Linked DNA regions of Homo sapiens: all the other regions are linked to region 2. Evidence: promoter capture Hi-C in 16 types of primary human blood cells and fetal thymus (Javierre and others, 2016). All regions are on one chromosome and are shown on one strand. The core of a region is centred on a gene start or on the middle of the fragment in contact, and the rest is flanking DNA. Distances in the headings are between cores, read along the strand shown. Region 1 overlaps TMEM131 (transmembrane protein 131). Region 2 holds the start of VWA3B (von Willebrand factor A domain containing 3B). Region 3 overlaps VWA3B (von Willebrand factor A domain containing 3B). Region 4 overlaps VWA3B (von Willebrand factor A domain containing 3B). Region 5 overlaps TMEM131 (transmembrane protein 131). Region 6 overlaps TMEM131 (transmembrane protein 131). Region 7 overlaps TMEM131 (transmembrane protein 131).

Region 1 (3,491 bases), core at 563-3,062, 230 kb before region 2:
AAGTGCAAGGTGAAGCATTAAATGCTGATGTACAAGTTGCAGCAAGTTATCCAGAAGATCTAGCTAAGATCATTGATGAACGTGGCCACACTAAACAACAAATTTTCCATGTAGATCAAGCAGCCTTCTGTTGGAAGATACCATCTAAAGAGAAGTCAGTGCCTGGCTTCAAAGCTTCAAAGGACAGGCTGACTCTCTCTTATTAGGGACTAACACAGCTGGTGGCTTTAAGTTGAAGCCAGTGCTCATCTGCCATTCTGAAAATTCTAGAGACCTTAAGAACTGTGCTAAATCTATTCTACCTGTGCTCTATAAATGGACAAGGCCTAGATAACAGCACATCTATTTATAACATGGTTTACTGAATATTTAAAATCCACTGTTGAGACCTAATGCTCAGAAAAAAGATTTCTTTCCAAATATTACTGCTCAGTGACAAGGCAACTGGTCACCCAGGAGCTCTGATGAAAATGTACAAGAAGATGCACGTTGTTTTCATGACTGCTAACACAACATCCATTCTTCAGCCAAGGATCAAGGAGTAATTTCAAGTTGCAAGTCTTCTTATTGAAGAAATACACTGCTTAAGGCTATAGCTGCCACAAAGGGTGATTCCTCTGATGGATCTGGGCAAAGTCCATTGAAAACCTCCTGGAAATGAGTCACCATTCTAAATGCCATTAAGAACATTTGCAGCTGGGCACAGTGGCTCAAGTCTGTAATCCCAGCACTTTGGGAGGCTGAGGCGGGTGGATCACCTGAAGTCAGGAGTTCGAGACCAGCCTCGCCAACATGGTGAAATCCCATCTCTACTAAAAAAAAAAAAAAAAAAAAAAATGTAGCTGGCAGTGGTGGGACGGGCCTATAATCCCAGCTATTCAGAAGGCTGAGGCAGGAGAATTGCTTGAACCTGGGAGGCGGAGGTTGCAGTGAGCCAAGATTGTGCCAGTGCACTCCAGCCTGGGCGACAGAGTGAGACCCCGTCTTGGAAAAAAAAAAAAAAAAAAGAACATTTGTGATTCATGGGAGAAGGTTAAAATGTCAACAATAGGAGGCTGGAAGAAGTTAATCCCAACCCTTATGGATGACTTTGAAGGAAGGGTTCAAGACTTCAGTGGAGAAGTCACTGTAGATGTGGTAGAAACAGCAAGAGAAAAGAATTAGAAGTGGCATCTGCAGATGTGAATGAATTTGTGCAATCCCATGATAAAACTTGAACGGAAGAGGAGTTGTTTCTTAGGGATGAGCAAAAAAAGTGGTTTCGTGAGATGAAATCTACTCCTAGTGAAGATGCTGTGAATATGCTGACAATGACAGCAAAGAACTTAGAATACTACATAAACTTAGAGGCAGGGTTTGAAAGGATTGACTCCAATTTTGAAAGAATTTCTGCTGTGGGTAAAGTGCTATTAAACAGCATTGCACGCTACAGAGAAATCTTTTGTGAAAAGAAGAATCAATGAATGTGGCAAACTTTACTGCTGTCTTATTTTAAGCAACTGTCACGGCCATCCCAACCTTCAGCAACCACTACCCTGATCAGTCAGTGGCTGTCAACATTGAGGGAAGGCCCTCCACCAGCAAAAAGATGACGACTTGCAGAAGGCTGACATGATCATCAGCAGTTTTTAGCAATAAAGTATTTTTGAAATTAAGGTATGTACATTTTTTAGACACAATGCTACTGCACTTAATAGGCCACAGTATAGTATAAACATAACTTTTATATATATGGGGAAACAAAAAAATTCTGTGACTGGCTTACTGCAGTGGTCTGGAACGGAACCCATAATATCTCCAAGGTATCCCTGTATCCCAAGTCCAACTCCTTTCTTCACCTCTTCCACGTACCACTCTGGTCAGAGTAATCATCTAATCATCTTCTTACCCTGGAGTATGACAACAGCCAATGTGACTGGTGTCCCTTGTCCTATTTTTGATGAACAATGATCCTATTAAAACCTAAAGCTACAATTTCATTCCTCTGTTCAAAACCCTTTGATGGCTTTCCACATCATTCAGGAAAAAGAGTCAAGTCAAACCATAGTTTGTAAGACCCTTCATAGTCTGCCCCCTTACTTCTCCTCTCACCCATGCTCACTCTGGTCTGGCTGTCTTTGCACAACAGGCCTGCTTTCAACAATGGAGACTTTATACTGCTTGGTCCTTCCGGCTAGAATGCTCTTCTTCCATATATTTCACTTTCCTCCAAACAGTCCTACCTCACGCCCTTCGAGTCTTTGTTCAAATGTCACCTTCTGAATAAAGCCTACCCTGACCACCCTATTTAAAATGGTACCGCCTTCCCTGTGCACACCTAAGTCTCTGATCTTATACTTTTCTTCTGACCTTGTAACATCTTCTAAGATCTTATAAAATTTACTTATTTATCATGCTTGCCTTCCCTCTGCTGCTGACTTCACCCAAACTCCCCAGAGTATGTATGATAAGCATCTCTGTTTTCACTGGTAAAAACAAAAGTGCCTGGCACTTTAAGTAGACACTTCATAAATATTTGTTAAATTAATTCCTTCTTTCCACATAGGTGGGGTGGCAAAACTATTTTTAATTTACATTTTCTTGTATGTTTTAAACTGCAAAAGTAACAAGTGCTTATTTTACTTAGTGATACAGTGCAAAGATGACTGAATAAAAAGCTAATACACTCAAACTTCCTCCATTCTCACCATTATTAGGTTATCCAGTCAACCTGGCAAATCTGTGCTTTATTCCGGCTCTTATTAATATACCCAAATAAATATACACAGATTTTTTGCTTTTAATAAAAATGGCATTATAGGCAAGGCACGGTGGCTCACGCCTGTCATCCCGGCACTTTGGGAGGCTGAGGCAGGCAGATTGCTTGAGGCTAGGAGTTTGAGACCAGCCTGGCCAACATGGCAAAACTCCATCTCTACCAAAAAATACAAAAATTAGCTGGGTGTGGTAGCAGGTGCTTGTAGTCCCAGCTACTGGGGAAGCTGAGGCACAAGAATTGCTTGAACCAGGAGGCAGAGGTTGCAGTGAGCTGAGATCATGCCACTGCACTCCAGCCTGGGTGACAGAGAGAGACCCTGTCTCAAAAAAAAAAAAAAAGGCATTATATTCTACTCTACAATATGCTTTTCTTACATATTAGCATGTCATGTATATTATTCCAGATCAATAGACAGAGACCTATTTCATTCTCTTTATTATCTGCATAAAATTCCATACTATTGCTACATCGCATTTTGTTAAATTCCCAAAAACATGCATGGAATCAATAGAATAATGTCCTTCTATATCTAATTAAAATAATCATTAATATTTATTAACACCCTTCAACCCATGAGAAGAGATTGATCATTAAGTATACTGAAATAAGTGAACTATAACATTTTAATTTTAGTCACAGACTGAAACAAAGTTTGTCCTAATCTTCAGTTTGTCTGAAAATTTAATTAATCAAAAGCTTCTAGTCAATAAAGAAAACATTTTTGTTTCCTACT
Region 2 (3,731 bases), core at 144-2,643:
AAGGTGGGAACAAGAGTGCCTGGCGTGACCATGTGAGGCAGGGCATTTGGCTATGTGTTGCTGTGTGCTCTGTCTCACCCCCGTGACCCAAGAATATTAGTGTGGCAGGGTGTGGACAGCAAGGATTAATGGGTCATTGGCAAACATGGGCGAGGCTGGTGTTTTACTCCCTTCTGAACAGTCTTCAGTACTATCAAGCTTTTGCTTGTTTTTTGGTGGTGTGGATGGCAGGTTTCATTTGCAGGGCCAAATATATATAAACTAATAACTGCCAGGAATGATTTGTGATATGGAATGAAATCTTTCAGTACTTTTTAAATGATAGAGGCATTAAAAGAATGCAGGAGAAATAAATTCCTGTGGATGAAGCAGACTTTTTTTGGGGGGACAGAATTACTCAGTTCTAACATTAACTATGTTTTATTAGTTCTTTGAAAAACCTGCAAATGATCTGGTCAGTTCTATAATTTTAAAATCTAAAATCGTTTACTATCCCAATACCCTAAAAACAATACTTACTGTGGGGTCTTTTATTAAGACTTTAAAGATACTTTTCATAAGCACAATTTTATTTCCTGGTGACTGGAAAAATAGGAAAATATTTAGAGCCTTTTGCTTAATTGATAAGGTAACACTGAAACAAAGGTTAAAAACAAAGCTGAATGGAGAAAATAATGCCTATAGAAATATTCATGTCAAACAGGTAAGAATATTCTTGGCAACTGCAGCCCCTGCCTCCACAATTGCAAAATTGCAGCTCCCTGTCCCTTCTGTCTGTCTCAGCTCCGCCCACGTCCAGTGGCTGAGCTACAACGAACTGCCCCACCTCTTTTAAAGCGTCTTTCTCTGAACTGTGCAAGGAAGAGAGCATCGCCTGACAGTGGTGAGGTGAAAATTAAAACTACACAGGGGTCAATGCTCTGCTGAAAAGTATGAAAAGAAGTTCGTTTGTAGCGTTTCCCGCAGTCTCCTCGCCTCTCCTCGGCCTCTGGCGCCTTCCTCCCCTGTCTGCTCGCACCCTATATTTCTACCCCAGCTCATCAGTGTATTTGTTTGTTAATTCATTCATTCTTTCATTCATATTCTCCGCTGTTGTTAATTTTCCCATTGACAGTAGGCGCAAGGGGCAACGCCACTCGCCCTGTCCCTCTAGCGTGGCCTCTGTTTGGGGGTCTGGGGTGGAGGTCGTCCCGGCCCGGGTGGTTCCGGACGCCGGCTTTCCGCACCTGGCTCGGTGACGGCCTCGGCGCCCCGCCCTCTTGGCCACGGTCCGCAGCCATCGCCCCAGTGAGGGCGCGGTCTGTGGGCGGGGCCGGCTCCAGGAGCCGCGCTGTGATTGGCCGTGTCCAGGCAACCGCGGAGACGCCGTCGTCAACAGACCGCGCTCGGAACCAGAGGCGCGGGTCACAGAGACCTAGAACAGCTGGAATCCTTCGCCCCCGGCGCGCAGCCTTCGCCCGCCGGAATCGCTGCCTTATCCACCAGCGGGATGCTTACCTCGCCCGCCCTCTCGGGTCAGGCGGGCCCGGGAGGATGGGAGGGTGGCTGCTGAGCGGGAGCCGCCACGTCTTCCACCCGACATATTGCCTAGTAAGTGTGGGAGCGATGCCTGCCGCACGAGAGCCGCCGAGGTGCCGAGCCTTCCAACAAGCGGCCTAGGGAGGTCTTGGAAAAATGCCATTTCTGAGGTGGACTACACGCCCACTTTACAGATGCGGAAACAGTACCAGGAAAGCTCGGTGACTTGCCCTGGCCCACTTAATCGTCCGCTACCCAGGGCAAGCCGAGGGTCAAGGTACCGACCCCTCCTACTCTAGAGCTCTTTCCATCACACCTCACCCGAGCCCACGCCCAGCCGCTCTGGTGGAAAAGCGGTTTTCCTAGTTTCTGTCTATGCCATAGGCCAGCAGTTCAAGGTGATGAAGTCCACCTGGGCTTTGGAGGGAACATGGGAACCAGAAGAAACACATTTCCTGAACATAAGGATAAATATGTATAGTCTAAAAGCCAAAGCAACACTTACATGGTTTCACAATCATATCAGTTTCTTTCACCCTCCTTATATGGAAATAAGACTTAATAAGTAGATTTAGTTTCCATTTGGTAGAGCTTTTCCTTTCATTTTCTTGGAAGCTCTGTTTCTTCTCAGCAATGACCTTCCTCCTAAAGCACTCCAATTATTCTCAGATATTGCCTTCTTGACTATTTTCTCAACGGTGGGACAGTCCGTTTCAATATCCTTGTCTCTGTCCACATTATTTGAGCCAATGATCACAGCCAAGCCTTGTCCCTTAAGGGCAGAAAAAATGGGAGGAGGTTTAAGGGTTTCTGGGGAAGAGTTGCATCAGGATCCATCATGAAGCTTCGTCCCAGTTTCCTTTCTTCCTGGAAAAATCATCGTTCACAAATTCACCTAAATCACAAGATATATATCCACCTAGCCCAGACTTCTTTTTCAGAAACTAACAGGGGTATAGGAAGTTTGGGGTGTTGATAATAAAGTAGCTAGAAGCTTATTGAATGTCTAAACTGGATTAATGGACTCTCAACCCTGCACTGTCCCTGAACCTCCGAGCACATAGGACCTTTTCTCTGAGGGCATGCTGACTTCACAAGACTGTCGCCCAGGGCAGCCCAGGAGCATCTGCTTCCAGTAGACGGGGCCCTTGTACAGTTGCCAGCTTAACCTTTCTATTTTCCCCAAAGCTTTGCCTGCCCACATTTTCAGCTCAGACTTTCACTTCCTTGTTTTTCCTTTTACACTTCCTCCTTCTTCTAAGGAAATACTTTCCTATCCAAACTCTATGTATGGTTCTTGGGATGGCCTCTAAAACTTAGGGCAATGCTCAACTCCGGTATGTTGTTGTTTCCGACTTCTGGGTTACTTGGTTCCCCAATTTATAATAACCTCAGCTGAGGAAACTCTGAATAATAGTAAATAAATAAATAAATAGCATAGTTTTATCAGAAAATAATATATCCCCCTTTATTTTTTTTTGAGACAGGGTCTCGCTCTGTCCCCCAGGCTGGAGTGCAGTGGTGCAATCTTGGCTTACTGCAACCTCTGCCCCCTGGGTTCAAGCAATTCTCCTGCCTCAGCCTCCCTAGTAGCTGGGATTACACGTGTGTGTTACCATGCCCGGCTAATTTTTGTATTTTTAGTAGAGACGAGGTTTCACCATGTTGGCCAGGCTGGTCTCAAGCTCCTGACCTCAGGTGATCCGCCCGCCTTGGCCTCCCAAAGTGCCAAGAGAGCACTTTGGCACTTTAAGGGGGCATTACAGGAGTGAGCCACCGTGCCCGGCCAATATATCCCTTTTTTAAAAGAGCTGTTTCCTGATATTAGCCTTATTAACACTGTGGATATTTGCCTTCTTTGAACAAAATCAGGATTCTCTTAGTAGCTCTGAGTGATCAGTTTTATTCATCTCAACTCTCACACCAAGTGCCTGCTGCGTATGAGGCCCTGTGCTGAGAATCTTCCTGTAGTTTGTCTCCGTAGTCATTGAACTGTCTTTAAGTCTAGTGAGGACAAGCCTGAAGTGCCTAAGACCTTAGTGATAAAGTATCATAGCAAAAGTTAGGGTTTTCCCAGGGAGGGGCTGCGGAAGGTTGTGAAGGGGTTTCGGGGAGGCTTAATGGCAGAGGCAGCATTTGAAATGAGACTTGCAGGCTAAGAGTCTGCATAGGAGAGCCGTCTGAGACCAACCTGGAGGTGGGAAAGCAGGCGG
Region 3 (3,644 bases), core at 421-2,920, 170 kb after region 2:
TTAAAGTGTACAATGCAGAGGTATTTAAAATATTCAAAATGTTCTGCAAACCACTACCTTTTTCTAGTTTCAAAACTTTTTCATTACCCCAGAAAATCACTTTGTAACCATAAATTAATCACTCCCCATTCCTGTCTCCCCCTTTTCTGGGTTACCACCAGTTTGCTTCCTGTCTCTATGATTTTGGCTACTCTGGATATGTCATATGAAGGGAATCATACAGCATGTGACCTTTTGTGTCTGGCAGCTTTTCTTAGTTAATGTAAAAACCTCATGTTTTTAAGGTTCACCCAGGTATCAGTACTACATGTGTATATATACACCACGTTTGTCTGTCCATTCTTCCACTGACGGGCATTTGGGTTGCTTCCGCTTTTTCGCTATCATGAACTATGTTGCTATATGCATTTGTGTAGAAGTTTCTTTGTGGACATATGTTTTCATTTCTCTTGGGTATATACCTAGCAGTGGATTTGCTTGTCACATGGTAATTCTATGCTTAACTTTTTGAGGAACCACCAAACTGTTTTTCCACAGTGGCTATGCCATTTTTAGAACATATCTATTTATTTTTATTGACCCATAATAATTGTACATATTTTGGGGTACATGTGATATTTTGATACTTGCACACATGTAATGATCAAATCAGGATGTTTAGACTATCTATCACCTCAAACATTTATTATCCCTTTGTGTTGGGAACATTTCAAGTTGTCTCTTTTAGCTATTTTGAAATATACAGTAAATTATTGTTAACTATGGTCTCCCTACTGTGTTGTCAAGTGTTAGAACTTTTTCCTTCTACCTAACTGTATGTTTGTGTCCAATAGTCAAACCTCTCTTCATCTCCCCCACCTCCACACACACTCTTCCCTGCCTCTGGTAACTATGATTCTATTTTCTGCCTCCATAAGATCAACTTTTTTTTGTTTTTAGCTCCTACAGATGGGTGAGAACTATTTGTCTTTCTGTGCCGGGCTTATCTCACTTAATATCATGACCTCCAAATGATATTAAGTGCTGCAAATGATATTAAGTTGCTGCAAATGATAGGATTTTGTTCCTTTTTTTGGCTGAATAGTATTCCATTGTGTATATATACCACATTTTCTTTATCCATCCATCCGTTGATGGATACTTAGTTTGTTTGATTCCATATCTTGCTGCAATAAACATGAGGGTGCAGGTGTCCCTATGATACATATTGATTTACTATCTTTGGATAAATATCCAGTAGTGAGATTGCTGGATCATGTGGTAGGTTCTCATTGCTCCACATCCTCATGAACACTTGACATTTTCCTTTTCTTTTTTTTTTTAAGTCATTCTCATGGGTGTGAAAGGCTATTCTGCTGTGGTTTTGATACACATTTTCTTAATGACCAATGATGTTAAACATCTTTTCATGTGCTTGTTGTCCATTTGTATATCTTCTTTGGAGAAATGTTTATTCAAGTTCTTTGTCCATTTTCCAATTGGGTTGTGTTTTTGTTGTATAACTTCTGAGGATTAAGTCATTATCAGATATCTGATTTGTCAGTATTTTCTCCCATGCTATGGGTTATCTTTTCGTATTCTTCATAATGTCCTTGGAGGTCCAAAAGTTTTTAAGTTTTAGGAAGTGAATTCTTCTTTTTTTTTCTTTTGTTTGTGTTTTTGGTGTCAAATCTAAGAATCCATTGCCAAATACAAAATCATGAGCATTTATCCTTTTGTTTTCTTCTAATATGTTTACAGTTTTAGGTCTTACATTTGGACTTTTGATCCATTTTTGAGGGACTTTTTGTATCTGGTGTGAAGTAGGGTTCCAACTTCATTCTTTTTCATGTAAATATCCAGTTTATCCAGCACTATTTGTTTAAGAGACTATTCTTTCCCTTTGAATGGTCTTGGCACCCTTGTCAAAAATCATCTGACCATAAATGTTTGGGTTTATTTCTGGACTCTCTATTCTATTCCACTGGTCTATATATGACTATATTTATGCAAGTTGACACTGTTTTAATTATTGTAGATTTGTATTCAGTTTTGAAATTAGGAAATATGAGTCCTTCAACTTTGTTCTTCTATTTCAAAATTGTTTGGGCTATTCAGGGCCCCTTGAAGTTTTGTATACATTTGAGGATTGGCTTTTCTATTTCTGAAAAAAAAATTGGAATTTTTGTAGGGATTATATTTAATCTAAAGATTGCTTTGAAGAGTATTACCATTTTAACAATATTGTTTTCCAATCAATGAACATAGAATGTCTTTCCATTTATTTAGTGGATCTTTAATTCCTTCAGCAATGTTATATAGTTTTCAGTATACCTGCCTTTCACATCCTCTGTTATTTTGTTCTTTTGGGTGCTATTATAAATGGGATTGTTTTCTTAACTTCATTTTCAGATTGTTCATTGCTGGTACATAAAAACACAGCTGAATTTTGTATTTTGACTTTGTACCTTGCAACTTTGCTGAATTTATTGGTACTAGTGGCTTTGTGGGGAATCTATGGGGTTTTCTATATATAGAAACATATCATCTGCAAGTAGAAATAATTTTACTTCTTTCTTTCTAATTTGGATGCCTTTTATTTCTTTTTCTTACCTAATTGATCTAGCTAGTACTTCCAGAACAACATTGAATAGCAGTGGTGAAAGGGGACGTTCTTGTCTTGTTCCTGATCCCAGTGAGAAAGAAAGGAAGTTCCCTATATTCCTAGTTTCCTGATTGTTTTTATCATGAAAAGTGTGTGTTAAATTTTGTCAAGTGCTTTTTTCTGTATCTATTGAAATGATCATGGATTTTTCCCTTTGCTCTACTAATGTGATGTATTAAATCATGTGATTTTCTTGGGTTGAACCACTCCTGCATTTCTGGCATAAATCCTACTTAGTCATGGTGTATAATCCTTTTAATGTCCTTTTGGATTTGATTTGCTAGTGTTTTATTAAGAATATTTATGTCCATATTTATAAAGAAAATGGTCTGTAGTTTTCTTTGACATGTTTGTCTGGCCTTGGTATCAGGGTAATTCTCTTCTTGCTGACTGTTAAGAAGTATTCCCTCATCCATTTTTTGGAAGAGTTTGAGCAGTATTGTTGTTAATTATTTGTTTGGTAGAATTCACCAGTGAAGGCATCTGCTTCTTAATTTCCCTTTGTTGGGGGATTTTTTATTTCTTATGCAAAGTATTTAATTGTTATATAGGCTGTTGAGTTTATCTATTTCTTCTTGAGTCATTTTGGTAATCTGTTTCTAGGAATTTGTGCATTTCATCTAGATTATCTATTTTTGGCATAGAACTATTCATAGTATTCTCTATAATTATTTTTATTTTTGTAAGCTGAATTAGTAATGTGCCTGCTTTCACTTCTGATAGTAGTAATTATGTGTTTTTTCCTTTTAGTCAATCTAGCTGAAGATTTGTCAACTTTGTTGATATTCTCAAGGAACAAACTTTTCATTTTGTTGATTCTCTCAATTGTTTTTCTATTCTGTAATTTGTTTATAAGTGCTCTCCTCTTTATTATTTCCTTCCTCTGCTGGCTTTGGGTTTAGTTTTCCCTCCTTTTTCTAGGTCCTTAAGGTGTAAATTTAGGTTGTTGATTTGAGAGCTATCTTTTAATGAGGAATTTACAGTCATAAAACTTCTTCTG
Region 4 (3,680 bases), core at 90-2,589, 190 kb after region 2:
GGGAAGGAGACACGGCAGCAAATGCTGTGTCCAGGGAGCCTGTGCCTGCTTTTTATGCTCCAGCTTCCACGGGCAGTTCCTGGCTGGCCCAGATGAGACCTAAAGTGAGAGCCGTTATTCCCACCTGCTCTGCCTGGCATCCTGCACAGGGCACATTCCATGCTTGACTGTATGATGGTTTCCACCTATGTCCATAATCCACAGGCTTCGTGGTGTCCCTGGAGATGGCCACTTGGCTCACTGACTACATAATGACAGGAGAAATCTTAAGTCTGAAATTTTAAATTCCCTTTGAAAACTCCCCTCCCTAGCACCCCTCATGTTACTGTGATTGCAGATTTCACCCTCACTAGCCAATCCAGAGCCCTCAGAGCTGAACGATAGGGGAAGTTGCCGGAGGGCATCTGTGAATTATAATTAATCCTCCCTGGGAGCCTGGTCTAGGGCAGCCCAGCTGTGCTGTCCTCCAACATTTTCTGAATAAATAAAGATTGTTCTCCAGGGCAAATCCTTTGGCCCAGAAAGATCAAAAAGGCTCTCTCACCCATAACCTTGACTGCTTTGGAAAATCTGGAGGTAGAAAATATTTTTAAGCTGAAAGCAGCTCTAAAGGAGGCCGTGGAAAGTTACCCACACCACTGGCTGCACACGTTTCCTTCTCAAAGCCGTGACTGGCAAGGAAGCTGGAGCCTATGGCCTTCAGGGGTGGGGAATTGAGTGCTCTGCTCCGGGAGAAAGAGAGCGTTAGGAAAATGCACACAGGGAGGCAGGCATGGGCGAGGCTGGATGAGGTGGAATTAGGAGAAGGAAGAGAAGAGATCATTTGCTGTTGAGAACATTCTGTTGGGTTGTGACTTTGACACTATACATGCAGGAAGATGTTAGCTGGGGAGACAGAGGAAAGTGTCTTTCAGTTATCAGTTATGTAAAATAAACTCAGAATATATACGGCTGTTATCTGTGTCCCAGATAGTAAATGAACCAATTGTCATTCTTCAATTGTAACTTTTTTTTTTTTACAGTCCATTAACGGGAGGTGTGAGGCATTACACCCTAACTGACTAGTCGGCCTTTCCAATTCCACTAGTAAAAACTTTAGTCTGTTTTGCTGATATTCAGGTCTGTTGGGAAGACTAGCTCCCTAGTGGCTGTGAACTGTTCTCCAGTGGAACAAGATCTACTGATGTTGAGACAGGAAATTTTCCCTGACCCCTTCATGGGACTTGCAAAGAGGGTGGCTTGTTTACTCAGCCCGTGGCTCTCAGCCCCTCTCGGGAGAGGGAGCACGCAGGTGAGTGGGTGCAGGGGCCAAGATGAGTACTTCTGGGTGCCGGCAGGAGCAGAACTCTGTGTGGCCCCAAGGCAGCTTCTAGAGGAGTACCCACAACCCCTGGAGCCCCAGAGGGCGTGTGTTACCGTGCTCCTTTAGTGTTGCTGTCCACAGATGGCTAAGTGTTTAACTCCTTGGTGTGACAGCCCGCTGTATCCCTAGCTCTTGTTCAGCATGCAGGAAGAATCAGGTCACACGAACAAATTGAAGATGGTAAATACAGGGAATTTTATTGCTGATGAAAGTGACTCTCAGCAGGATGGAGAGCTAGAAAGGGGATGGAGTGGGAAGGTGGTCTTCCCCTGGGGTTCAGCCATCACTGGCCACACTCTTCTCTGAGGTCCCGCCATCAAGCCATCCCCCTGAAGTCAAGCTGCTTCTCAACGACGTCAGGCTGCTGCTTCTCTTTTCTCCATCTCTGCTACTCCACTGCCAGTGGAGCCTGGAGTTTTTATGGGTACAGGATGGGGGGGTGGTGTGGGCCAGAGTGGTTTTGAAAAAGGCAACATTCGAGAAGGAAAACAGGAATGTGGGTCCAGGCTTGAGAGTGGGGCCCTCACTGGGGACTGCTGCCTTCTACCCAGTATTTCCCTGCCTCCTGTCCATATCAGTGGGCAGGAAGTTAACAAGTCTGGGGTGTGCACTGGTGATGTTACCATCACACAGAAGTGATGTGTGCACATTCAGACCATGCCGTCCTCAGACAGCACTGCAGTGATGGTTTAGCATCTGGAAGTGGGACCCCTGATGGGCCTCCAGGGCATGTGGCCAGAGTGAAGCTGAAATCCCAGAGGCAGTGAGAGGATGACAAAGAGAAAATGAAGCCCTTCATTACTGTGCCACGTTTATCTAGGGGTTAGATGGGGCTTTAAGGAGAGAATCCTGCTCAGAAACACCAGTCACTGGAGGAAACTGAAAGAAGGGGGAAAATATCCCCAAACTCTATTTTCTAAGAAGTCTTCTGTCTCATGTCCTGATGTTCAGGAATGGGAAGGTGGGTGTCAACTCTGGGGATCCCTGAGGTGACAAAAACTTAGAACCAGGCTGTCTTTTCATTCTGAAGCTAAAGGCACCCTCCTCGCTGGAGATTCGGCTGGGCAGATGCCAGCACTCTCCTGCCTCTACATTTGTCTTTGTTCCCAACCATGAATTCTACCCAAGCACCCTAAACAGATCTGGGGACAGATTTGCCCTCCCTGTCTGGAGGAAGAAAACGGAGTGTAGAGGGCTTAGCAGGGGCCACTCAGGAAGCAGAATCCAATTCATTCAGCACAAGTGAAGAAACGTTAATGAAGGAACTCTTTGCAGAAGTGAAGGTCAGTCTAAGGCAGTCCGTGGGATATTGCAGGACCCCAGGACAAGCAATAGCAGGAAGCTGTTATCATCCCCAGACTTAAAGGGGCAAGGGAAGGAAAGCGTGTTCCTGGAGCCCTAGAGAGAAAGAGCAGGGAGTGGGCAGGACACCAATACCCCGGCTTCCTCCTGCCTTCTGAGCTTGGCGCGTGCCTCAAGACAGCAAAAATTAGGGAGATAGGGTGGTGTGTTCCCTGGGGGCCAGCCTCTGGGGGTACAGAGCAGGGCAAGGAAGGGCAGAGAGCAAGGGGGATGCGTGAGTGGGGGCGGAATAGCCAGCCCAGAGGAGTGGATGTCTTGAAAAGTTTTCTTAAAGACTCAGAATTCATTTGCACACCAGTCTCGTGTGAGATGTTTGTGTAAAGTAGGTGGCTGGTAGTGGTTCATACGTCAAGGCAGTGCCACGAAAGTGGCTCCCAAGTGTGGCTTTTGTTCATCTCCGGAGTAGCGGGAAATGAATAACTGTATCAGGAACGCGAAATTACAAATCCCAAGCTTTGGTGATTTCCAGATATAAATATGTAACACACTTCAAATTTTTCTCTCTTTGTTTGTTTGTGTGTTTTTTCCTAAAAGAGCAATAAGGGAATATTTCCTGAGATGACGTTGCAGGTTTACTTTCAAGATAGGGAAATAGTTTTGGATTTTTTTGTTTTTCTGTTTGGAATATAGTATATGTTTATTAGATTCCTTTGCTGCCACAAAGAAAAGAAAGAGAGAGAGAGAAAAAAAACACACAAGTTTATTTTCAGCAAAGCTTTGAGGTAGCTATTTGTTAATGTTTGACTGGAGGTTTTGCTTTCAGGGTGATTAACTGTTCTCCACACCCCGGTGCTGCCCTGGGGTCAGGGAGGGGAAGGAATGTTTCCTGGTTCGGGGATCTGTCTGTGGAAGTGTTTCTTGTGCCTCTTAGCCATTCGCACGGCACAAAGCGCTACCAGCTGGGATGAGGCTGAGGCCAGACCGCTCACCAGGCCTGTGCCGGGCTCAGGAAGCA
Region 5 (3,329 bases), core at 725-3,224, 200 kb before region 2:
ATAAATGGGTCTTGGAGTGTCAGATTGGTGGGGTGCATTGGCTTTGGTGCATCTGTGTCTAGGTGGGCACTGTAGTGTAGTCTCTGGGTACTTTCCTCAGCTGTCAGTCACACTTGACGTCTGCAAGTATCTCAGTAGCCTAGGCTGAGAGAGTCTGTGGTGGTAGTGGTGCAGCTTTGTTGAGGGTGGGCTCACAAGGCTGTTTCTCAGGTCAGGGATGTGTGCATCCACACAGTGGGTCAGGCAGCTTGGAATCTGGCCAACTTAGGGTCTGGCTCTAAAACGCAGGGCTGTTACTCTGGACAGCAGCACAAGCACGTGTTTAGTTGGATGGTGTGGGTGTATGCCTGCCAGGAGTAGCCCAAAGGGCTGTTTCTCAGGCCTAGCTATCTGTGAAACTGCTTTGTGACGTGTGGATTTATGTCACAGAGTTAAAACTTTCTTTTGACTCAGCAAGATGAAAAAACTCTTTTTGGAGAATCTGAGAAGGGACATATAGGAGCCCGCTGAGGCTGCTCAGCTGAACTGGGAGTTATGTTTGCCAGGGATGGCCCGCAGGGCTGTTTTTCAGGCGTGGGATGCAGTCTCATGGCTTCTCAGATGGCTTGGGTGTCTGTTGGCTTGGGGTGACCCATGGGGCTGTTTCTCAGGGTGGGGGTGCAGACACATGGGTGTTTAGTTGGCCTTGAAGTGTGTCTGCCCTATGGGGCTGTTTCTCAGGTCCAAGACACAGTTGCAAGTCTGCTCAGCTGGCCCGAGGATGTGTCTGCCAGGGGCAGCCTATACAGCTGCTTCTCAGGTCCATGATGTGAGCACAAAGCTGCTTGGCTAGCCTGGGGACATGTTTGCTAGTGGCGACCCACAGGGCTATTTCTTAGGCCTGACACAGGCACAGAGATGCTCAGCTGGTCTGGAGGTGTGTCTGCCGGTGGTTGCCCACAGGGCTGTTTTTCAGGCCCTGATTTCAGGTGCAGGGCCATTGGGCAGGCCAAGGAAATATCTTGGGGGTGCACTGTGGGGCTCTTTCTTAGGTGCTGAGTGCAGGTATGTAGCTGCTTTGCTGGCCCTTGGGTATATTAGCTGCTTAGAGGCCCGGGGGTCTCTCCTGCTTGGGGGAGGGTGTGCAGTGGTTTGCTTAGCTCATCAAGGCAGAGTTCTGTGAATGAACCATGTCTGTCTGTGCGTTTGCTTTTACCTGCCATTATGGGTTGGTGATAATACTATTTGGTGATATATAAGAGCTTGTCTATTAAAAGCACATATATTAAACAAATAGAATATATTTTATTCATAAGAAGATTTTTAAATAGTAAAAATAAAAATGAAGTGCTAATCAAAACAGCTAACTATAAGTTCTTTGCTGTTTCCAAAGAGTCTCTGAACCAGAGACTACAACAAGCGAGTATTTTTCAAGCTTTAAAAGTTAATATTACATGTTAGACTCCTAATAGATACTTACTTCCCATTTTCAAACTGCATTCAGTATCATTTGTTTTCCTGATGACTAGAACATGTAACTTTCCCACATAGATGTAACACAGGCAAAAGACAAGACAAATGCATGTAAAATACATTTAATAGTTTAATGGGAAAGTACAGTCCAAAAATTTTAAACTTACTGTTCATGGAAATCCAGCATTGGTGGCTCAAATCGTATGGGCCTGCAATTCCCCCGGTAGAGAGATATACTGTAAATAAAAAGAAAACAACATAAGAAGCAATTCTTCAAAATATATGTTTCCCCAAACTCTATTCAGACAGCTGACTTTTGTCATAACAATGCCATTTTAAGAAAAATTGGGTCTAACAATCTATCAGAAATGTGCGTCACTTTTTAAATTAGCAGAAACCAATAAAGATTGCGTTTTAGAAAATGAAAAAGTGGGATTATTTTTCTTCTTCAAAGGTATATGCAAATAGAAAATGCTCAGGCAGACTGAATGTTGAAATTTATTTGGTTGGTATAATTGGTAACGATATACTTTAATAGGTCGCTTGGATTTTCTGATACATGTATGATGAATAAAGAGTTAATACAACTTACATACATTTAGCAGACAATATATGAAGACAAAAATCACAATCAGATTGTAACTAGAGTGGCAAAGGACTAAACAAAAATGAATTTGGGATACAAACTTCCAAGAATTGAAATATCTATTTCATCTGAGAGTTTGGAATACACTAGAACTGATCTCTGATGTCCTGGCCTCCATATTACAGTAGCATCTTCTAACTAACCCACCTGATACCAGAACTTCTCAATAGAACAGATTTCTGAATAGCAAACCTCAGACAACATCAGGGCCTAACGCTGATATAAAACATAAATGACTTTTGGTGGGGTAGGGGGAGTAGTGGTGGTGGTTCACATGCCTAAAGTGTCAGAAATTCAGTCAGAAAGTCAGAAATTCAGTCAGGCACTAAGTTTCAAAATAGTAGATTTTGATGTTTTTGTTCTAGGAAATGATGTCAGAGCAAAACCCATTTTGTGAGACTACTTTATTTCCATCATCACTGAAATTCATAGTAACGTAAGCTTTGAAATGATATAGTAATTTCATTCAGGATTAAGGAGTCAGAGGAAATATCCAGGATTTAGGAGATACAAGAAATAATTAGAAATAGACAAGGACATTCATAATATGGAGGAAATTTGGCTTTAATTCAATTCTATAAAGATTAAATAATCTGAGTAGTGGAATAATTTAGCTGAAGGTAATAAAATCCAAACATGTTTTTAGCCCTACCAATTTAGAACATTCTTTTGTGTAGCTTAAGAATCCCTCTGCATATGTTGAACAGAAAAGATGACAAACAAAAAAAGAAAGCAAGCACCAAAAGTAAGATTATATTTTACTAAAGCATGAAACTAAAGACACCGGGACATGAAGGCACAATTCCTTGCAACACAGTGTTGGCATCTATTCCTTCCTGCTTTCTGCCCTGTCTGTTTCTTAGATGTTATGTAACAAAAACATTCTTTGGCGCCTTTAAAACAAGAGATGCTCCTCAGCTCATTAGTTTCATTAGTATGAAACTCAAATTTACATAAATCTTAATCAAATCAAGGAAAAATAAAGTATAAGGCATAACTGTATGTCATTAATTCCTATATAATATTATATTCCTATATATAATATATATTCCTATAATGTAATATATATTCCTATATATAATATATAATTCCTATATATTAATTCCATGGACTGTTTAGATGTTGGAGAAAAAGGAAATTAAGATACAGTGTTTTTCTCTCACAGAGCCAAGAGGCTGTTCTGCAAATTACAAATGGAAATGTCTAAAGTGGCCAGGTGGGGTAAAAAAGT
Region 6 (3,726 bases), core at 999-3,498, 170 kb before region 2:
GATGACATCTGTGAGGGAGTTTTAAGAATTTTTAACTCACAAAAGGGGTCTTTCCTGACTTTCTAATTGTTTTGCTTCCTGTGCTTCTCTGTGTGTATGTATTTTTAACATGAATTTTCACTGAGATAACTGTAGATTCACATGCAGTTGCAAGAAATAGTAAAAAGAGCTATATTTTAACTCAGTTTCCCCACTGTATCATTCTGCAAACACTATGGCATAACATCACAAGCAGCACAGCGACACTGGTACGATCCACCTGCCTTGTTCAGAAGGTCTCAGTTTTGTATGTCCTCATTTGTGTTTGTTCATGTATTTAGTTCTACACAATTTTCTCTGCTGTGTAGGTTCATGAACACCAGTCAAGACACAGAACAGTGTCAGCACCCTGAGAATCCAGTGTGTCGCTTTTATAATCACACTCATCTTCCTCCTGCCCTTCCCCCCAAGCCCTGGCAACCATTCCTCTATTATTCATGACTAAAATTTTTTCATTTTAAAAAGGTCATATAAATGAAATCATGCACATGTAACCTTTTGGAGTTGGCTTTTTTCACTCAGCCTAATTCTCTGGAGACTTACCCAGGTTGTTGTGTGTGCCAACACTTTATTCCTTTTTATTGCTGAGTTGTATTCCATGGTATGAACGTATCACTGTTTAACAGTACATCTACTGAAATACATCTGGGTTGTTTCCAGTTTGGGGCTATTATAAACAGAGCTGCTATGAACATTTATATACATGTTTTAATGCAAATATAAATTTTCATTTCTTTGGGAGAATCCCCAAGAGAGCAATTAGTAGGTCAATTATAGTAACCACATGTTTAGATTTATACGAAACTGCCAAACTGTTTTTTCCAGAGTAGCTGTATCACTCACATACCCTCTAGTAATGCATGCGTGATCCAGTTTCTCCACATCCTTGCCAGTATTTGGTGTTGTCACTGTTTTGTGTTTTGGGTTTTAATTTGCATTGCCTGGTGGCTAACAATGTTGAACAGGTTTTCATGTCGTTTTTACCATCTGTATTTCCCCTTCAGGGAAATGTGTGCTCATCTCTTTTCCCTGTTTCCTTTATTTTTATACTATTGAGTTTCGAGAGTTCTTTCTATATTCCAGAAACTAGGTCCATTGTCAGGTGTGTGACTTGCAAATATTTTCTCCTAGTCTATATTTATCTTTACATCTTCACATGGTCTTTTGCAGAGAAAGGTTTTGTTTGTTTGTTTTTGTGAGACCAGTCTGGCTCTGTTGCCCAGGCTGGAGTGCAGCAGTGTGATCATGGCTCACTGCAGGCTTGATGTCCCAGGCTCAAAAGATTCTCTGCTTCTGACTCCTGAGTAGCTGGGACTACAGGTGCACACCACCACACCTGGACAATTTTTTATTTATTTTATTTACTTACTTTTTATTTTACTAGAGACAAGGTCTCACTATGTTGCCTAAGCTGGTCTTAATTAAACTCCTGGGCTCAATGGCTCCTCTTCCCTTGGCCTCCCAAAGTGCTAGAATTACAGGCATGAGGTACTGCGTCTGGCCCAGAGCAAGTTTTAAATTCATCGATCTTTCCTTTATACATTGCACATCTGGTATTAATTCTTTGGTGTCAAGAACTCTTTGCCTAGCCCTGTAAGCTGAAGCTTTCCTCTTAGTTTTATTCTCCCTAAAGGTTTTATTATAGTTTTACATTAAGTCCATGATCCATTTTGAGTTAGTTTTTGTTTAAGGTGTGAGATCTTTCTATATTCAGACTTTGCATACCATTTTAGTATTCTGTGGTATTCTTTATTCCTAGTTTTTAAGGCTGTTTCTTATTTTATTTTAATAAAATAAAATTTTGCCTGTTGCCCAGGCTGGAATGCAGTGGAGTGATCTCAACTCACTGCAACCTCTGCCTCACGAGATCAAGCAATTCTCCTGCCTCAGCCTCCCAAGTAGCTGGGACTACAGGCATGTGCCAGCACGCCCAGCTAATTTTTTTTAATTTTTAGTAGAGATGGAGTTTCACCATGTTGGTCAGGCTGGTCTCAAACTCCTGACCTCAAATGATCCACCCGCCTCAGCCTCCCAAAGTACTGGGATTATAGGCGTGGGCCACGGCACCCAGCCTTAAGGCTGTTTCTGAACCCGCTATTTATTCTTCTTTTGTACCACTTATTGTACTACAATAGAGGGCAGGAAATAGTAGTAAAGGGAGAATCAAAATGAGGATGAAGTGGGGAGCAGGTATTTCTGAGAAGACTCAAAATTTAAAGTAGAAAATAAAAACCTGTGTGCAAACACCAGCTCTGCCCTCACTAGCCAAATACCCTTGGGGAAAGTCTGTAAAAGCAGCATTCTGCCAACTACAAGGAGCTGCAGAGCTGTTGGCCTCTGATGACGGCTTTCTAGTGTCCCACCCACTTCTCTCTTCAGCCACAGGTAATCAACTTGACATGACATGAAGTGGCTGTTTTGAGTACAAAATTAGTTGTAATATTGTAAAACTGATAATGTAGAGTGAGAAAATCTAGCTTTGTTTGCAGAGAGAAAAATAACTGAAAAAACAAAAAGCACTACCTTGTAGTACATTTAGGCAGTGGGATACAAGGGTAATGACCCCTGTTATTGCAGAGCGGTTAAAAACTTAGGCCTCAGAGTCAAATGCTTGGTTTTCAATTCTAGCTTTATCACTTAATAATCATTTATTTGGTTAGGTTAAACTCCCTGCACTTTAATATGCTCACCTGTAAAATGATCATAAAATGAATACCATCTCATGTATTTAAGAATTTAGAAGAGTACCTGACTTGTCAACACCCAATAAATATGACTTATATTTATTATTTTTTCACATTTTTCAAATTTTCTACAAGCTTATATTTCTTTTATAATAGAAGTCCTTTAATTTAAAACAAAAGATGAGTACTTCTAGGCCTCCTTACAAGTCAAAATCACAGCTCCTTCTCCATTTCCTTTTCTCCTGGGAGAACATTAAAGCCCATTTCCAAGACAATTTAGAAAAGAAGTTGGTAATCTATTAGCCCATGAGCCAAATCCAGTCTTCTGCCAGCTTTTGCAAATAAAGTTTTATGCCCATTTCTCACATACTGTTACGGCAGCTTTCACACTACGATGACCAAAGTTGAATAGTTGTGATAGAGACCATTCGGGACACAAACCCTGAAGTAGTTAATATCTGGTCCTTTACCGAAAAAGTTTGCCAACATCTGGCTTAGATCAACAGAAATAATGCCACAATATCTTATTTCCAGAATCATTAAGTCCCTACATAAGAAAATCTGTGACCTAAAAATCTAAGGCAATCTGGCATAGCATGTCCTCAAGAAAAATACAGACAATGTACAGTCCCACTAGTGAACTGCAGTACAATTCTGATGCTAACCATCTGCATTAGTCTGTTCTCACACTGCTAATAAAGACATACCCAAGACTGGGTAATTAATTCATAAAGAAAAGAGGTTTAACTGACTCACAGTTCTGCAGGGCTTGGGACGCCTCAGAAAACTAACAATCATGGCGGAAGGGGAAGCAAACATATTCTTCTTCACATGGCAGCAGCAAGAAGTGCTGAGCAAAGGGGGAAAAGCCCCTTATAAAACCACCAGATCTCATGAGAACTCACAATCACAAGAACAGCATGGGAGTAACCGCCGCCATGATTCAATTACCTCCCAGCAGGTTCTAGCAAGCTTCAGTATCCAGTTTCATCAGGTAGGTAAG
Region 7 (3,618 bases), core at 752-3,251, 220 kb before region 2:
ACATCCCTGTGAATTCCTTCTCAATGTTTTTCCTTGTGTAACTTTAGTACAATCAATCTCAGCTAAGATAAAGAAGACAGGATACATAATGGACAGGTAATTTGGGGTATCCTTCAAGAAGACAGGATTGGAGGTGGCCTCCTGCAGGAGAGGGCTGTGGGGAAAAGAGACAAGTGTGGAAGTGCTAGGAGCCTGGAAGCAGGAGTGGATCAGAATGCTTGATCTGCAATGCTTCTGAGGCTGGCCCTGCCCTTTCTTCCAGGGATCAAAGAGGAAAGGCATGGGCCACATCCCATAGAAATGAATGAACCCTTGCTCAGAGGAGATGAGTCATCTACTTATGTTGTTCAAAGTAGCTTGGAGTAACAAGAACAGAGGGAAGCTGTCAGGAAGGACATCAGCAGGCTATTTTAGTCGTTGCGTGCTCAAACAGGGCAGGCTGCCTCTAGCTCTGGGCAGTCCACACCACAGGAAGCAAAGGGAGCGGGCACTCCTTGGACAGACTTGCTCACAGACCTCATAGGTCTGTGAACAGCTTGCCTTCCTCCTCACCATCCTCCGTTCCTTTGGTGACATGAGCAGAATCTAGACCATGGAAAGTACATGACCATTTGTAAACTCACAATGTGTTGCTTTTCTATACTATGTAACAAATTACCACAAACTTTGAGGCTTAAAGCAATGCCCGTTCATTATCTTACAATTCTGTAAGAATGCCTGGTTTATCTGCTCGAGGTCTCACAAGGAAATGCAGGTGTCAGCAAGATGTGTCCTCATCTGAAGCTCAAAGTTCTTTTAAGTTCATTCTGGTTGTTGATAAAATTCGGGTTGCTTTCAGTCTTTTGCCATATGACCCTACCATTTTCAAAAGCAGCACGAAGAAACTCTCTTGCATCCAATATCTCCCTTACCTCAAATACCTGACATTTCTGTTTCTGATTGCTAAAGCCAGATTTTAAAGGTTCGTGGATTAGGTCAGGCTCACCCAAAAAAAATCTATCTCAAAGGTCAATTGATTTGGGGCCTTAGTTACAGTTTCAAAATCCTCTATAGCAACACCTAGATTGGTGTTTGATTGAATAATTGGGAGAATGTATGTACAGGTACATTAGAGGCCAGAAATTTTTAGAATTCTGGTCTATCTTAGAATTCTGCCTATCATAAGCAGGATATATGACTACTTGGCTGAACAGGTAAAATTTAAAAATAAAACAAAGATTTCCAAATGCCTGCCAGTGCTGGTCCTGTTTGTTTCCATTACTGGCTGTCCAAAGACAGAAGTAGGGCCAAAAGGGACAGTGTGAGGTATTTATAAACCAAGCTGAAGCAGGCATACAGCTGTTCTCTGTGCTGCTGCAGCAGAACTACGAACTGTCCATATTTTCGAATAGTCTGAGGCTCAAAAGAATTAGAAAGCAGCAGCTATGAATTAGAGACTAGCTTGGAAAGTAAACTGCAATTTTGTGGTCAAGGGCAAGTTTCCTACACCACAGAAAGATGACACTGCAGTGCCAGGAAACAGCTGAAGAAATGGCTTAGCAACTGCCCTGAGGCAGACCTTATGAATGACAGTGACACAGCACTCTGTTAAGCATAGTTTTGGGCAGGAAGTCGGGTCAAATCAATATGCAGTACTTTGTACCACTCAATTACCGCAAAATACTACTATCCTCCTTTCAAAAACATTTTAGATTGAAGGCTGAGCTGGGGAGTTGATGTAAAATCTTTTATGGAAAGATTGGGTAGGTAGGAATTGAAAAGCTAAGAGGCACCAAGTATCCCTTTAGGGGGCCTATTTGATTTTCTTGGAATACCAAAAAGTCATCAGAGAAAAATGCCTTTCATAAACTAAATTTATCTTGACAATAAAGACATCTATTTTTAGCAATAGTCTATTCAACGTCCATTTTTTTTATAGCCATGAAGTACCTACTTTAACCTTCAGATCTGAAATCAAGATTTTCTGAATGTAATAATTATATAAGCCAAAGATTTTAGTAAACCAAGTTTCTACCCAAAGCATCTTTTACAGCCTGCAATGAATGTCTGGAGTGAAACTGCCTTTGCAAAATTAGAACAGTAAGAGAAATCTGACATAGTTGACGCCATCTTGCTTCTGACCTCCAAGCTGTCCTTTGTCATTTCTGGGAACAGGCAAAGCTAACTTTGGGAGGAATTTAGTTTATAGTTTAACATTAAAGCAAGGATGATAATAACCTTTCCCAAAACGAAACTGCTTCTGAAAACTAATGAAAAGCCATGAGGTTAGGGTTATCAGAGGGGCCTGAGATAACCGGACATTGTCTGGGAGATCATAAGGTTTCTAAATTTCCCAATCACTCCTGTAGGAAGCATTACTACTACAGAACCTAAGGTTGGTCTTTTGAGAGATCCTTTCAGATGTTTGCATTTCTGACAACTGGCTGACTCAACCGGTCCTGTGGCCCCCACCCAAAGGCTGACTCAGAGCAGGAGGACCATATTCCACATCCCTATGATTCCATCCTCAACCAATCAACATTCCTCATTCCCTAGCCCCCTGCCCACAAAACTATCCTTGTAAAACCCTAATCTCCAAGCCTTCAGGGAGACTGATTTGAGTAATAACTCTATCTCCTGTGTGGCTGGCCTCATGTTAGTAAAACTCTTTATTGCAATACCATGGTCTCAGTGAACTGGTTTTGTCTGTATAGCAGGCAGGAAGAATCCATCAGGTAATTATAGGAGTTGCTATGGAAACAGAAAAACATTTAACAGCACTGGCATAAAAATGGGGTCGGGGGGGGAGTGGAGAATGGGAGGGGAGCCAGTGGTGTCTAGATTGCCCCATGGGATTGTTACAAGGAGAGAAGAGGAGAGAAAGGGGGAAAAGAAAAGAGGGGGAGGGAAAGGGAGGAAGGGCAGAGAGAATACAGGTAGGCTTAAAGAATAAATTTAAACAAAAAGTCTGAAAACAAAGAAAGCTAATTTGATCTGTTTATTGTGAAACAAATTCTACAGGAGAGTAGGAATGATCAGGGTAATGACAGGAGTCAGCACTGGGGTCAAGAAAGAAGCAAGGGAAATTCTAGATGCACCCTTCCTGAAGGGCCTGATACTTTTTAGAAGATGCCATGAGTTAGAAAGACTCTAACTCCATTTTTGATATTCAACTGTTGATAGTTTTCAAGCCCCAATGATGCCCCTTTACCTTTAGCCCCAAACCTGGGCAAGCCAATCAAAAAGCCCTTCTCTCTCGGAGCTAGTGAGAAGTTCCAATCATGCAAACCCACTCCAGCCTTGCTCCCCAACCGCAATAAAAACCAATTGCTGGCAAGATGGCCGAACAGGAACAGCTCCAGTCTGCGGCTCCCAGCGAGATGGATGCAGAAGGCGGGTGACTTCTACATTTCCAACTGGGACTGGTTAGACAGTGGGTACAGCCCACGGAGGGCGAGCCGAAGCAGGGTGGGGCATCACCTCATCTGTGAAGCACAAGGGGTCAGGGAATTTTCTCTTCTACCCAAAGGAAGCTGTCAGGGACTGAACCTGAGGAACTCTGGCACAGATACTGCGCTTGTCCCATGGTCTCTGCAAGCTGCAAACCAGGAGATTCCCTCCGGTGCCTACCCCACCAGG

Evidence for each region. Contacts are between HindIII fragments. The CHiCAGO score rates a contact against its expected background, and 5 or more counts as called.
Region 1: a contact is called between a fragment that was not itself captured here and the fragment with the promoter of VWA3B in region 2, in 3 of 17 cell types (naive B cells, total B cells and megakaryocytes). The highest score is 8.3, in naive B cells.
Region 3: a contact is called between a fragment that was not itself captured here and the fragment with the promoter of VWA3B in region 2, in 1 of 17 cell types (M2 macrophages). The highest score is 7.6, in M2 macrophages.
Region 4: a fragment that was not itself captured here is called in contact with the fragment with the promoter of VWA3B in region 2 in 1 of 17 cell types (M2 macrophages); the score reaches 5.7 in M2 macrophages.
Region 5: a contact is called between a fragment that was not itself captured here and the fragment with the promoter of VWA3B in region 2, in 3 of 17 cell types (total B cells, naive B cells and monocytes). The highest score is 8.1, in total B cells.
Region 6: a contact is called between a fragment that was not itself captured here and the fragment with the promoter of VWA3B in region 2, in 3 of 17 cell types (naive B cells, total B cells and monocytes). The highest score is 10.8, in naive B cells.
Region 7: a contact is called between a fragment that was not itself captured here and the fragment with the promoter of VWA3B in region 2, in 4 of 17 cell types (total B cells, naive B cells, megakaryocytes and 1 more). The highest score is 9.4, in total B cells.

Annotation. Positions count from the first base shown.
Region 1 is chr2:97,852,619-97,856,109 of GRCh38, forward strand. All of the region lies in intron 5 of TMEM131 (transmembrane protein 131), which reads right to left. Among named protein-coding and RNA genes, the nearest start is that of ZAP70, 140 kb to the left of the region's middle. The HindIII fragment of the contact is 3,280 bases long and covers 173-3,452 here.
Region 2 is chr2:98,085,774-98,089,504 of GRCh38, forward strand. VWA3B (von Willebrand factor A domain containing 3B) reads left to right here and starts at 1,394. Exons shown (of 28, transcript NM_144992.5): 1 at 1,394-1,590. RefSeq lists enhancers at 1,122-1,622, 1,519-1,588, 1,623-2,123. The HindIII fragment of the contact is 2,164 bases long and covers 197-2,360 here.
Region 3 is chr2:98,256,243-98,259,886 of GRCh38, forward strand. The region is part of intron 21 of VWA3B (von Willebrand factor A domain containing 3B); the gene reads left to right. Among named protein-coding and RNA genes, the nearest start is that of CNGA3, 88 kb to the right of the region's middle. The HindIII fragment of the contact is 8,873 bases long and covers 1-3,644 here.
Region 4 is chr2:98,276,955-98,280,634 of GRCh38, forward strand. The region is part of intron 22 of VWA3B (von Willebrand factor A domain containing 3B); the gene reads left to right. Among named protein-coding and RNA genes, the nearest start is that of CNGA3, 68 kb to the right of the region's middle. RefSeq lists an enhancer at 3,247-3,680. The HindIII fragment of the contact is 3,674 bases long and covers 1-3,176 here.
Region 5 is chr2:97,886,433-97,889,761 of GRCh38, forward strand. TMEM131 (transmembrane protein 131) reads right to left here. Exons shown (of 41, transcript NM_015348.2): 4 at 1,620-1,688. Among named protein-coding and RNA genes, the nearest start is that of TMEM131, 110 kb to the right of the region's middle. RefSeq lists enhancers at 310-811, 812-1,311. The HindIII fragment of the contact is 1,125 bases long and covers 1,413-2,537 here.
Region 6 is chr2:97,914,104-97,917,829 of GRCh38, forward strand. All of the region lies in intron 2 of TMEM131 (transmembrane protein 131), which reads right to left. Among named protein-coding and RNA genes, the nearest start is that of TMEM131, 80 kb to the right of the region's middle. The HindIII fragment of the contact is 1,215 bases long and covers 1,642-2,856 here.
Region 7 is chr2:97,869,163-97,872,780 of GRCh38, forward strand. All of the region lies in intron 4 of TMEM131 (transmembrane protein 131), which reads right to left. Among named protein-coding and RNA genes, the nearest start is that of TMEM131, 120 kb to the right of the region's middle. The HindIII fragment of the contact is 4,310 bases long and covers 1-3,618 here.